Linked DNA regions of Homo sapiens: all the other regions are linked to region 1. The links are contacts of gene promoters, found by promoter capture Hi-C in human tissues and cell types (Jung and others, 2019). All regions are on one chromosome and are shown on one strand. Each heading gives the region's core, a stretch centred on a gene start or on the middle of the fragment in contact. The rest is flanking DNA. Distances are from core to core; before and after follow the strand shown. Region 1 holds the start of POU4F2 (POU class 4 homeobox 2). Region 2 overlaps TTC29 (tetratricopeptide repeat domain 29). Region 3 overlaps TTC29 (tetratricopeptide repeat domain 29).

Region 1 (3,966 bases), core at 390-2,889:
ATGGGTTTGAGCGCGATCATATTATTGTGGGACAGTGTGAGGGACTCGAACCTGCAGATGGTGCTCTGGCTAAGCGAGCCCACGCCGGGGATCTTGAGGTTGGCCAGCGCGGAGCCCACATCTGCCTGGGTCACCCCCAGCTTGATGCGTCGCTGCTTGAAGCGCTCGGCGAATGCCTCCAGGTCCCGCGGGTCGGCGTCCACGTCGCTCATGCAGCCCATGTGCGACGGCAGCCCGTGCGCGTGGGCCATGCTGAGCGCTGCTTGGTGCATGGGGTTCATGGTGGCCATGTGCGGCGCGTGAGCCGGCGTGGACACCACAGCGCCGTCGGGGCCCGCCATAGCGCCCAGGGCCAGCCCGGGACTCAGGTGCTCCAGCAGCTCGCCCTCCAGCGCCTGGTGCGGTTGGTGGTGGTGGTGGTGGTGATGGTGGTGGTGGTGGTGCGTGCCCGCCAACGCGGAAGGGTGCGAGATGGGCACCGATGAAGAAGAGGCGGCCGACGTGCACGGGATGGTATTCATAGTGTGGTAGGTGGCGTCCGGTTTGAAGGGGCTGTGGTGGGGTGGATGGTGGTGGTGGCTCTTGCTCTGGGAGACGATGTCCACGGCTGCCAGAGCCTCGGCGCGGGCCAGCAGACTCTCATCCAGCCCGCCGAATATATTGCTCTGCAATTGTAAGTAGAAGGCACACATTACGCTCAGCAGGGAATTGTACGCCCTCTCTCCGGAAGCCCCGGCCCAGGGCTCGACACCGTCGCCGCGCCTACAACATTCCCAGATCGTTAAAATAATAATAATAATAATCCTGAAAACAGAGGTGAAGAGAAAAAGAGGGAAGCCACAGAAAGAAGCCGAGAGTGCAGGAGGAGGAGGAAAGTGAGCCTGTAGACACAACGAAACACAACACAACACGCGCACAGGCAACATCCCAGGTCATAAAAATTAATATGAAAGGCAAGACCTGCTGAATACTTAAGAGAGAGAGAGGGGAAAATTGGTTGGAGGTGTGGGGTGATTTGCTGTGCAGACATGAAAAAAACATCAAGCAGATAAAGGGGGCTGTCAAAATGTGCCTTTAAGCGGTGATTATGCAGAAATACGCACCGGTGGGGTTGGAAGACAGGCTCTCCGCATAGCCTCCGAGCCCCCGCCGCCGCTGCTGCCACTGCTGCTGGAGCTGCTGCTTCGGCCTCCGCCGCCGCCGCCGCCGCCGCCGCCGCCGCCGCCACCACCAGCGTTGCTCGAGCTGCTGGGGGAGCTGGCCGAGGGCGCGATGGGAGCCGAGGAGCCCGGCGAGGTGCTGTGCAGTGCCGAGTACTTGGGCTCCACGTGCAGGCTGCCGCCGTGCGGCATGCTAAACGCCTGCTTGCTGTTCAGGGACATCATCATCATCTTCCCGCCCGCCGGGGCGCTGGTCCGTAGAGGCACTCACTGGTCCCGGCTGCCGGGACCCTCCGAGAAGTGCCGGGCCAGCCGGGGCTGGAGCTGGGAAGGGCTGTGCGAAGTTGAGCTCACCCGCCGCCGCCTCCGGACTCTGTACGCCTGATCTCGGCTACGCGCTCCTTCGCCGCCTCTGCTGTCAGTCTGAACGGATGCCTGACTCCGCTTGCCGCTAGCTGCAGACCTCGGCACCCGAAACTGCCCCCGCTCCTCGCGGCCGGCGAGTTATACTCCCCTCTCCCCGCGCCTACCCCCGCGCCCCCCGCCCTCCCTCTCTCCCTCTCTCCCGCGCGCCTCCGCCCTCCCTTGCCAGGAAACGCCGGCTCCTGTTCGGTTTCTCGCGTTGCCCCTTCTTCCTCTCTACTCCCCTCAGGCTTGAGTCCTTTCTGCTCTCTCAGCACTCGCCTCGCGCTCCCCCACCGCGCCCTCCGCCGCCTCTTTTCTGCCCCCGCCCGTGCTCTGTTGCCGCCGCCCCTTCGCAGCGTCCCGCGGCTGCTACTCACAATCGCGCCCCCACTCAACCCCACCCAAATGGCCAGGTCCGCGCTCCAGTCGCCGGGCAGTGCCTACCTAAGGACCAGCCTCCAGCCCCTCCCGCTTCTTCTGCCGGGTCTCTGTCTCACCGGAAAAAGAAACTCCCAAATAAAGTTGCGGCCCAAGCCAGCGTTGGGTAGGTAAGAGTGCCTCTTACCTGGCTGCCACCTCCTACGCCTCCTGCTTACCACTAAGTTCCAGGCTTCCAACCCCACTCGGCCCGCCCCCACCCCGTCAGCTCAGGTGACCCTGATCCCAGGTTCCCGGCCACCGCTGAGAACACAGACGTTGCGGCCAACCCGGGTTCTGCGCGCGGCTCTGAACTCCCAGCCCAATACGAGCGGAGGTCGGCGTTCGGCTACGAGCCCCCCACGGCCCGGCGGGTGCCTGGTGCCAAAGAGACATGGGGTCGGAGGGGCTGCAGGGCTTTCTCTCACTCGATTTCTCGCAGCTCTCAGCGGATTGGACAGCCGCGGAGCAGGCTCGGGTCGTCTGTGCGCATGCGACTCCTCCCCCTCCCCGCTGTCCCCACCCCTCCCACAACACACACACACATACACACAGGCACACACACACGCTCCTCTTGCCCCCCTTTTCTCTTCCTCCTCCTCCCTGTATCCAGTACAGTTCGAGTTGAGTCTTGGAAGGATCCACTGGCAAACCCTGCCCCTGGATTTATTATTCTTCATTAGCCACAATCAAAGGAAGAAGGGGCAACTGACAGGGAGAGGGAAGGTCAGAAATTACACAGCGCATATGCTGCTGAATACACCCCACAACACAGACACACACACACACACCCTCGGGGGCTGGCACAAACCTCACTTATCTTCATTTCCACAGCCTCTCGGTGCGGAGCCTATTTTTAGCTGACACTTCACTCCCACTTCTGTCCCAGTCCCAGTGCAGACCACTTTTCCTAGAGATGGACACACACTCTTGGTTCCAGTTGCAAAAGGAGATAATCTCTTTCTATCTATCTCTCTCTCTCTGTCACACACACACACACACACACACACACACACACACACTACTTCCTCTCCTTCTGGATCCCATTTTCTCTATACTTCCCGCGGTGTTGGGGGCTGCTGTCACCTCCCTAGAGAGCGGAAGGAGCAGGGTGCAGGCGAGGGTGAGAAGGCCCCGGGACCCCGACGCAGGAACCCGCGGGTGGCCCAATCCGGACGGGGGTTGACCGGGAGCAGGTGCAGGCACTGGGCGCCTGGGGAAGGCGAGCAGGTGCGAGAGCAGGCGGCAGGCCTGAGAGGCGCTGGCGCGCGCTGGGACAAAAACAGAGTGGGAAGGAGAGTGGAAAAGGGGAACCCTCGGGTGGTCAGCTCCCGGAAGCGGCGGTGGAGAGTAGGGGACCGCCTGTCCACCCCTGACCTCAGCCGGGCGGAATAGCGGTTTCAAGATGGGACCGCTGTCCTCAGGAGCCGCCAGAGTGCTGGGGAAGGCGGCAGCAACGAGCGCGCGACGGGCTCTGTCCATGGTCCTTAACCCCCTTCTGCTTTCCCTGGATCCTCTCGGGCTTCCCTTTCTCTTCCCCTGTGTGGAGGAAAATAATAAATAGTAGCCGAAGGGAACTCCTAGCAGCAGTGTTGCCGGGTGTGAGCTCAGCGAAACCTGGACATGGGGTAGGGAAAGGGGAGTGTTCACGTGAATGAATGTGGCTTGTGCCGGACGGTTCAAGTAAGTGCTTAGGTGTTTAATTTCTACCTCAACAACAGCCAGAGTAATTTTCAAGGAAACAAAAAAAAAATGACATTGTACAGCTCTGTCTCAAGCTTCAAGAAATGAAATAAATCAAAGTTAAAAGCTTGAGTATCATTTAATTATAGTGCGAATAGCGCTTTGAAAGAAGTAGAACAACATCTCTAAACAAATTATGACTGGGCCAGGAAGGAATTATTAGATTGAAATTTCATTTAGGCTCGGGAGACACCGCGCTTCACTGTGTAATCTGCTATGCCTCATCTGATTTGTATGCTTA
Region 2 (3,966 bases), core at 903-3,402, 160 kb before region 1:
TACATTTTAAAAGCTGTGCAGTTATCTTCACCTCTGAGACTTCCATCCTCCAAACAAATCATTAGCTCAGAGAGCAGGCAATATTCTTTTAAGCAGAGGAACATGACCCCCTAAGGGAATAGAGCAGTGAGAGCATTCAGGTCTCTAGATGAAATAGAACAGTGACTCACCAGCAATCATCTCTCATCTTTATACCTTTCAGAGGGAACACAGCAAATGTAGGCACCTTCATTCTATTCTAAGACTCTTAGATATGGTTAGACCTGAGTGCTTATTCTTTCTTTCCAATATTAAAATAAGAATAGATTATCCTCCCAAACTTAGGGATTTAGAAGAAATTCAAATTGATTGCAGTTCAATAAAATTGTTCATCCTAAATCAACTGAAATTGTTTGGCTCCAGAAGGCTTAAGAGCCCATGAATTTCTGCTGATTTCTCCAGAATATAGTTTACTTTCCTTACTAGAGCTATTATCTCTACAATCAAGAAGAATTTTTTTAAATGAAAGGCTCATTCATCTGGCCTTTTGGAGATCTCAGACCCACATGTGGAACAGCAACACAGAAGCAAAAGCTTTCCATATTCAACTTAATAGCAGTGTCAACCTAGAAATGTAATTATAGCCATTTAAATACCAATATTGTTAACCACTTCACTGATAATAATTATATCAGTAACATGGTTTTCATGTACTTTCTTATTGTAGCCAAATGTAAATGACATCAGAGAAATAAGATGCAAATCCTGACTATAGAAATATAGTAGATTAAACTGCTGGCAGTCAGTACTTAAAGACACTGTTTTCTACAAAATGGCATGTAAAGGTTTCCTTGACTGGCAACGATATCATCGTAGTTTTATGCATCATTTAGTATTCTTAAAAGAGAATGATCAAAACCATGACTTTGTCTCACAGCCCTTGGTTTATGTTGGCTTAATGTGGGTCCCTGGGCTTAATATTGAGTCATGTTTTTGTAACCTGTTCCTTGCTTGTATTTTTCATTCATGAACTCAACCCTTTAAAAAAAATGAAAAAAAATCACACTCACTAGTGATCCTCAGCTTTTATTACAATCAGCTACTTCTGTTGGTTATTAACTTTAATAATGAGGAGGAGGTCATGGAATTAGCCAAAAAGTCAGCAAGCAAGTAGGTTTCATCCATCTTATAATCACAGAGGAACTCTCTGTCTTTAATAATGTTTTCATAACCAACACAAAGAAAAAGAAGAATCTGGTGAAAAATATGACTGAATCAAAGCTCACCTACTGGCAGCTTGGTGTCATTCAGAGAGGCTACTAGTCAAGAGTCCAGTGATCTGAGCTCTAACATCATATTGAGCACTAATTAGCTTTGTGACTTTCAGCAAAAGATTTCATTTTGTGTCCTTAACCTGTTACCTGAGGTTCAAAATATATGTCGACAAGATTCCTCTGGAACTGACCATGATTTCTCAGTAAGAGCATCTTTCTCACTAAATATGGTATTTTGTAGTCTTTTTTTTTTTTTTTTTTTTTTTTTTTGAGACGGAGTCTGGCTCTGTCACCCAGGCTAGAGTGCAGCGGTGCAATCTCGGCTCATTACAAGCTCCGTCTCCCAGGTTCATGCCATTCTCCTGCCTCAGCCTCCCGAGTAGCTGGGACTACAGGTGCCCGCCCCAATACCTGGCTAATTTTTTCTATTTTTAGTAGAGACGGGGTTTCACTGTGTTACCCAGGATGGTCTCAATCTGACCTCGTGATCCACCTGCCTCGGCCTCCCAAAGTGCTGGGATTACAGGCATGAGCCACCATGCCTAGCCCGGCCAGTATTTTGTAGTCTTTAAGAGTACAATCTAGATGTTCATGAGCATTTTATTTGTTGTTTTTCTCCCCACAAACATCGGCTTCTGTGAGTTTCCACAAAAGGAAACTTATTATTATCATTATTTTTATTATATATTAAACAACTATAGGAAGACCAAGTGTATTTGATCCTTCTGCTAGAATTTATAATAAAAGTTTTACTTTTCCCTGGTTGGCACTCTTGAGGCTGCTAATCTTAGTGAACTATTTTATCTGAAGACTTTAATTCATCCTCCTGTATCCAATCCTGTGTCTTACTTCCCCTTAGCATTTCCTCAACCCTACCCTATCCCCCGCTGTTCCTGGGGCTCCTGATTTCTGAATATTCCTGCTTTTCTCCTCATGATTATTCCTCTTCATATACTTTACTTTGTGGCTACCTCTTCCCTCCTAAATCTGATGCCACTCCTATATCCTATAGTCCATATGTTCAAGTAGGTAGTAGGAACTTAAAGAGTCATGGAATAAAATGTCCAAGATGAAAAATAAATTGAATGGGATTAGCAGCAGATTACACAATGCAAAGGAAAAGGTTAGTGAACTTGAAGACATAGCAATAGAAACTATTCACAATGAAATACTGTGAAAAAATACTGAAAAAAAAATTGAACAGAGAATGTCAGAGAACTGTGGGTCAACTTCAAGAAGCCTAATATATGATTGAATTGGAGGCCCCAAAGGAGAGGGAAAAGAAGAGAGAACGAATATATATATATATATATATATATATATAAAACAAAGTAATCAGTGGCCAGTTGTTTTACAAATTTGATTTAAGAAAAACCACAAACTGGAATTTAAGAAGCCCAGTAAACTGTAAGCAAAAGAAACATGAAGAAACTAAATGGAGGCATACCATAGTCAGTGCTTGAAATCAGTGATAAAAAGAAATATGTTAAAGCAGCCAGGGTGAGGTGGGAGAGGAAGGACACTACATACAGAGACAGGACAAACAAAAAAAACCAGAAAGATCTTTGTAAAAAATACAGTTCAGAAGAAGATATTTAAAGTACTGAAATAAAAAAAAATAAGCATCAAACCTAGAATTGTATACTCAGTGAAAATATCTTTCAAAACCATAGGCAAAATAAAGCTTTTGCCAACCATATAAAAGCTGAGAGAATTAATCACTAAACATCAGTACAAGAAATGTTACAGTCCTACACACTGAAGGAAAAGGGATTCATTTTGAAATCTGCATCTGTGCAAAGAAATGAAGAACATGAAAATTAGAAATATGTCAGTAAAAATAATTTTTCTTTTTAAATTTGCTTTAAAAATAATTGGTTAATGCAAACAAATAATAACGCATTGTAGGGTTTATAACAAATGTGAAAGTAAATGTAAATTAAATGGAGAAATCTGATTTTGTAGAGGCACCTTCAGTTTCCACCAGGCAGACAACTGCCAGCCTGGGGTCCACCATAGCTCAATATTTGAACTGAATGTTGTCAGTGCTCATCAGTCTCTTCTTTGGGAACTCACTGTTTTAGCATCCATATCTCATTGCCTAGTTGTTGGGTTCCTCTAAAAGGGATTTGTTTTTAATTTTGACCTTTTTTTTTCTTAGATTACACAAACTTTACCTGGCTAAGGGTGGGTGATATATTTTGATACTGGGTATTTTGGGGCCCCAGATCATCACAGCCTACTGCACAAAGGGGCCTTCTAATGTCAGCTTTGTGGATTCTGATGGCTTTCTATTTGCTATGAGAAATTGTTTCAGACTCATGGCATACATCTTTGCATCCAGACCTGGAATCTACCATTTCTACAAGGAGCCCCAACAAAAGAAATTTTTGAAAAAGCAAAAGTAACTTCTAAAAATCTAAAAATAAATAAACAGATAAAGCCAATGACCCTAAATATGTATCCAGTTGGTGATATAATCACACAGGAAGGAAAAATTCCAGATGGCTTTAAAACAGAGAAATTTGACCATACATCTCTAATGGATTATATCCTAAAAAATGCCTCCCACCCAAAAAATCTAAAATTTTTTTTCAGTAGTCATGTTATTGGTGTTGATGTTGACATTATTATTATGATGTGTGTTTTAGAAGACATTAAATGGATAATTACTAAATATACTAAGTATTTTATTCAGTGTCCCTATGGACAA
Region 3 (3,966 bases), core at 1,055-3,554, 130 kb before region 1:
GGTGGCAGTAGAAAACTGATGTGAAGGAGGATAAATGACCCTACTACTAAGTGTGGTTCCTGGCAGTGTGGACATTACCCAGAAGGCTTTTTTTGAGAAATGCAGAAGCTCAGACCCACTCAGATCTACTAGATCATCCTCTGCATTTTACAAAATGCCCAGAGTTCTCTACTCTGGCTGCACTTCAGACTCCACTGTTAGTTTTTTTAAAGCTACTGATGCAGAGACCTCACACCAGGGATTTGGATTTAAATAGGCATTAATTGAGTGTCATTCAGAAATTTTTTTTTTCTAAAGTTCCCCAAGTGAGCCTAAGGAACAACTAGTGTTGAGAACCGCTGGAATTATAAGCCTGAAAACCATGAAGTCCAGATTCTTTTCCCAGTGCCCCCACTTGCTTGAGCAAATCATCGGCTTCTCTAGGTCTGCCTTTTAATCTATTTAATAAAGATGATGTTTAGCCTGCCTACTTAAGGGGAGTTGTAACAAACAGACACAAAAAGCTTTGAGAAGTTTAAAGCACCATTGCTTAGCATTATTTTTATTGTGCTTAACTACAGTTATCATCTATTGTGCAGTATCATTTTTTTAGAAATTTAGAAACAGTGAAAGCAACTGAAGCTGTTCAAGTTCCTTAAACTTGCATAAGAAATAACAGAAAAGCATCAGAACTAAACCCAATTCAGGGTCACTGTTGTGCAACACTGATTCTCGGCCCAAAGTATAACTAAAATGATTATTGGATGGAGAATATATCACCAAGTGAAGACAGACAACACATCTGTTCAGTATTGCTTAACTTACAGCAGAAGTGGGGACTGACTTTCTTTTGTTTTTAATGGTGTGTAAAGTGCTTTTGCATCTACATCTTTCTTCTGGGTAGGCATAAAAAATATATGCTTAATCCCTATTTTAGTATCTAAAAGCTAGAATTAACCAATGGTAGATCCTTATACTACCTTTCACTAGCATATTTTTTGTAGTTATACTTAGTCAAATCCCATAATTGATAAAGTAAGAGAGAAACCATTTTTTAAAAAAATTCTAGAAATCAGGAAAATATTAAGCTTGAATATTAGATTTTTATCAGATATAGTATTTTTATTGCTGATAAGTCAGTGTTTGTCTAAAAGGAAAGTCAAAAATATTCGCAATCACTACAGCAAAAGATTGACATTTTAATGTCTTATGTGTTCAAAATTTCAACCACAAACACCGATACTAAGAATTTTATTCAAAATTCTGAGATTATAGGGCAATATGTAGTTTTTAAGGAAAGAAAGATTTGAAGTGGGGAGAAATGCTTGAAAGCAACCATTTTGTCGCTGAAAGTTAGGCATAGTTAATAGGTTAATTTCTGTTTATTGAATAAGAGAGCCCAATGCTGATTGATATAGTAATTTCAGTGTTTGCTATGGCAAATATTTAGCTCATTATCAGTTTTAATAGCATTTTGCAGAACAAGCCTTTTCTTGACATCTAGAAAATACTATTAAATTTCCCTGCATAGATACATTGTTATGACATGCAATAACTACTTGAATATAAAGGGGATTAATAATTTAAAAGGTGTTAACAAATTAGGGCCATCATTAAAAATAGACTTTGAACCATTTTGTAGCAAAATCAGATTGAGGTAATGCTCTGCTCTTATGATAAAGAATTACTGCATTAATTCTGCAAAGTGAACTTATTGCTCCTATTCGTCTCCAAAACCCTGGAGCATTAAAAGACAGGAAGAATGAAATGATCACTGCATTTTTTTTCAGGCACAACAGCTCTAATATTTCCATCACAGTTTCACAGCTCAGCCAGCCTAGTTGTGTTAATGGAGGGGAAAAAATCTCTTCAAAATTGTCATCTTTTTCTTTAATTTTGCTTTTAGACTGTCTTATAAATTTGAGCCAGATTTTCTCAGACAGTTTATAGTAATAAAGAGAGAATTATATTTAACTTGAGCAACTTCGGTTTTGACTACACAGCTTAATACTGTTTTGCTTCTGACTTTTCAAAATGTAATCCATGAGTATGTTGATGATCTTATTTCCACATTTGTTACCTACTGATGGTTGGAGTTAATTTAGCTGATGGGGATAGCTAAGCAGGGTCCCCTTCCTCATCGACTGCTCTATGGACATCCCTCCTAAAACTAAGCACTTGTCAGTACACAGGACAACCTCACAGAAATTGTTACTTGGTCAAGAGAAAATGATGGCTACACTCTCCTATTTGAATCTTCAAACTTAATACTCAATTTTCTTTACTTTCTCTTCTTTCCTCTAAAAAAATTACATATCATAACACATTTTGAAATGCTATTTTACTTCCTGACAAATAAATTCCCTGCACAACTATTGATATAAACTGGAAAGAAAATGAAAATTGGTGTAGGAATTGCAGCTATAATATATATGTTCATAGAATCATGGAATATTAAAATGAAAATGGACCTAGAAGATCACCTTATCCAACCCTTGAATTTTAAAGGTAAGGAAGCTGAAGCCCAGGTATGTTAAATAGATGGTTTTCAACACACAAAGTTATGAGTGACAAGGGGGACCTCTCCATTTTTATTTTTGCAATAGCAGACATTATTCAGGTCTGAAATTCCCCTATTTTACAATATGAGCTGAGCATTTTATTGATTACAACTGTGAAGTAGAACAAATACTGCACATAGATGTAGCTGACCTAGAGCTTGACTCGCAAATTATGCATGTATCCTTGAGAAACTTACTTGAGCTCTTGTTAGTGTTAGTTTACTTATCCACTAAATATAGACAATAATATCCTACTTCAGGTATGTTATGTGAATTAACAGAGTACATATATGCCAAACAGCAACCTATAGATCTTTATACAAATATAAGTTATTATCATTTAGAAGAAATGTGCGCTTCCACTAAATTAAGGCATTTTGTTATCTGGGAGGGGAATTATTAGTTAGCTAACACATTAACAAGGCCCTGAAGCAATGGGACAAAACAATAAGTTTTCATTTGGGGGAGAAGAAAGGTAGGGAAAGATCTAAGGCATTGACAATTAGAACAGAACAGTGAGAGACCCAGAGCAGTTGTCAAAAACATCATTAAAAAATGGCTGCATTTTACGGTTGAGAAAATGAAAGCTTGGAGAGGTTAAGCAATTTGACCCCAGTGAACCAGGCAGAAGATGGTAGAACCAGGACTAAAACCAGGGCTCTCTGATTCTAGCTATCAGATATGATTAACTACAAGGGGAATGATTTAAAGTATCATAAATAGGATGAAATCTTTGCACTAAGATCATAAAAGAACATTCTTTTCTCATGTCAAATGCTAGAAGTGACATGTGTTACGAAGGAAACCTAGGGAAGCTCCAGTGGAATCTATAATACCAAGTTGCTAAAGCAATAGCTAAATGATGAATAAATGTTTTGTCTACAGGATGATTTCATGAATTATTCTAAAAGAATTCCAATTGGAATTTGTCAATTATCTTTTTTTTATCTTAAACAATTAATTTAAGGACTGGACAACTTCTAAATGTCTATCTCTAATAATATCAATTGCCCACTACCTAACTACTTCTTCCCAATTCACAATCCCTGTTACAAGCCCTTCTAACCTACCTAGGGGCTGCATTTTCTTTTTGGGTTGTAAGTTGATTGAGAAAAAATTATTTAACAATTTACTGAATCTTGTAGCTTCATACTTTGCCAAAGATCTTATAAAACCTAACACTAAAGTACATCTATACATAATGTCATTTAACCCAGTTTTGAAAATCACTGCAATGTAATTTAGCAATAATGAGACTAATAGCTTTATCACAAACCCACTTCTAAAAAATACTAATTCATTTTTTAATTTTTTTATCAGACAGGTTGTCCATATGCAAGAAATACATTATTTAAATAATTATTTAGAAATATTTAACCCTACCTATCCCTGCAAGACAATAAAGCTGCTTTCACCCATCAATGCT

The links. The method cuts DNA at HindIII sites, captures the fragments that hold promoters and counts their contacts. A contact is called where the count stands out against the background at its distance.
Region 2: a contact is called between a fragment that was not itself captured here and the fragment with the promoter of POU4F2 in region 1, in 3 of the 25 tissues and cell types used here (neural progenitor cells, ovary and thymus).
Region 3: a fragment that was not itself captured here is called in contact with the fragment with the promoter of POU4F2 in region 1 in 2 of the 25 tissues and cell types used here (aorta and lymphoblastoid cells).

What each region holds. Positions count from the first base shown.
Region 1 is chr4:146,636,566-146,640,531 of GRCh38, reverse strand. POU4F2 (POU class 4 homeobox 2) reads right to left here and starts at 1,639. Exons shown (of 2, transcript NM_004575.3): 1 at 1,104-1,639; 2 at 1-665. The coding sequence starts at 1,391. RefSeq lists enhancers at 959-1,540, 1,541-2,121, 2,122-2,703, 2,704-3,285. The HindIII fragment of the contact is 18,734 bases long and covers 1-3,966 here.
Region 2 is chr4:146,796,444-146,800,409 of GRCh38, reverse strand. All of the region lies in intron 11 of TTC29 (tetratricopeptide repeat domain 29), which reads left to right. Among named protein-coding and RNA genes, the nearest start is that of TTC29-AS1, 140 kb to the left of the region's middle. The HindIII fragment of the contact is 4,457 bases long and covers 1-3,966 here.
Region 3 is chr4:146,766,445-146,770,410 of GRCh38, reverse strand. All of the region lies in intron 11 of TTC29 (tetratricopeptide repeat domain 29), which reads left to right. Among named protein-coding and RNA genes, the nearest start is that of POU4F2, 130 kb to the right of the region's middle. The HindIII fragment of the contact is 3,038 bases long and covers 786-3,823 here.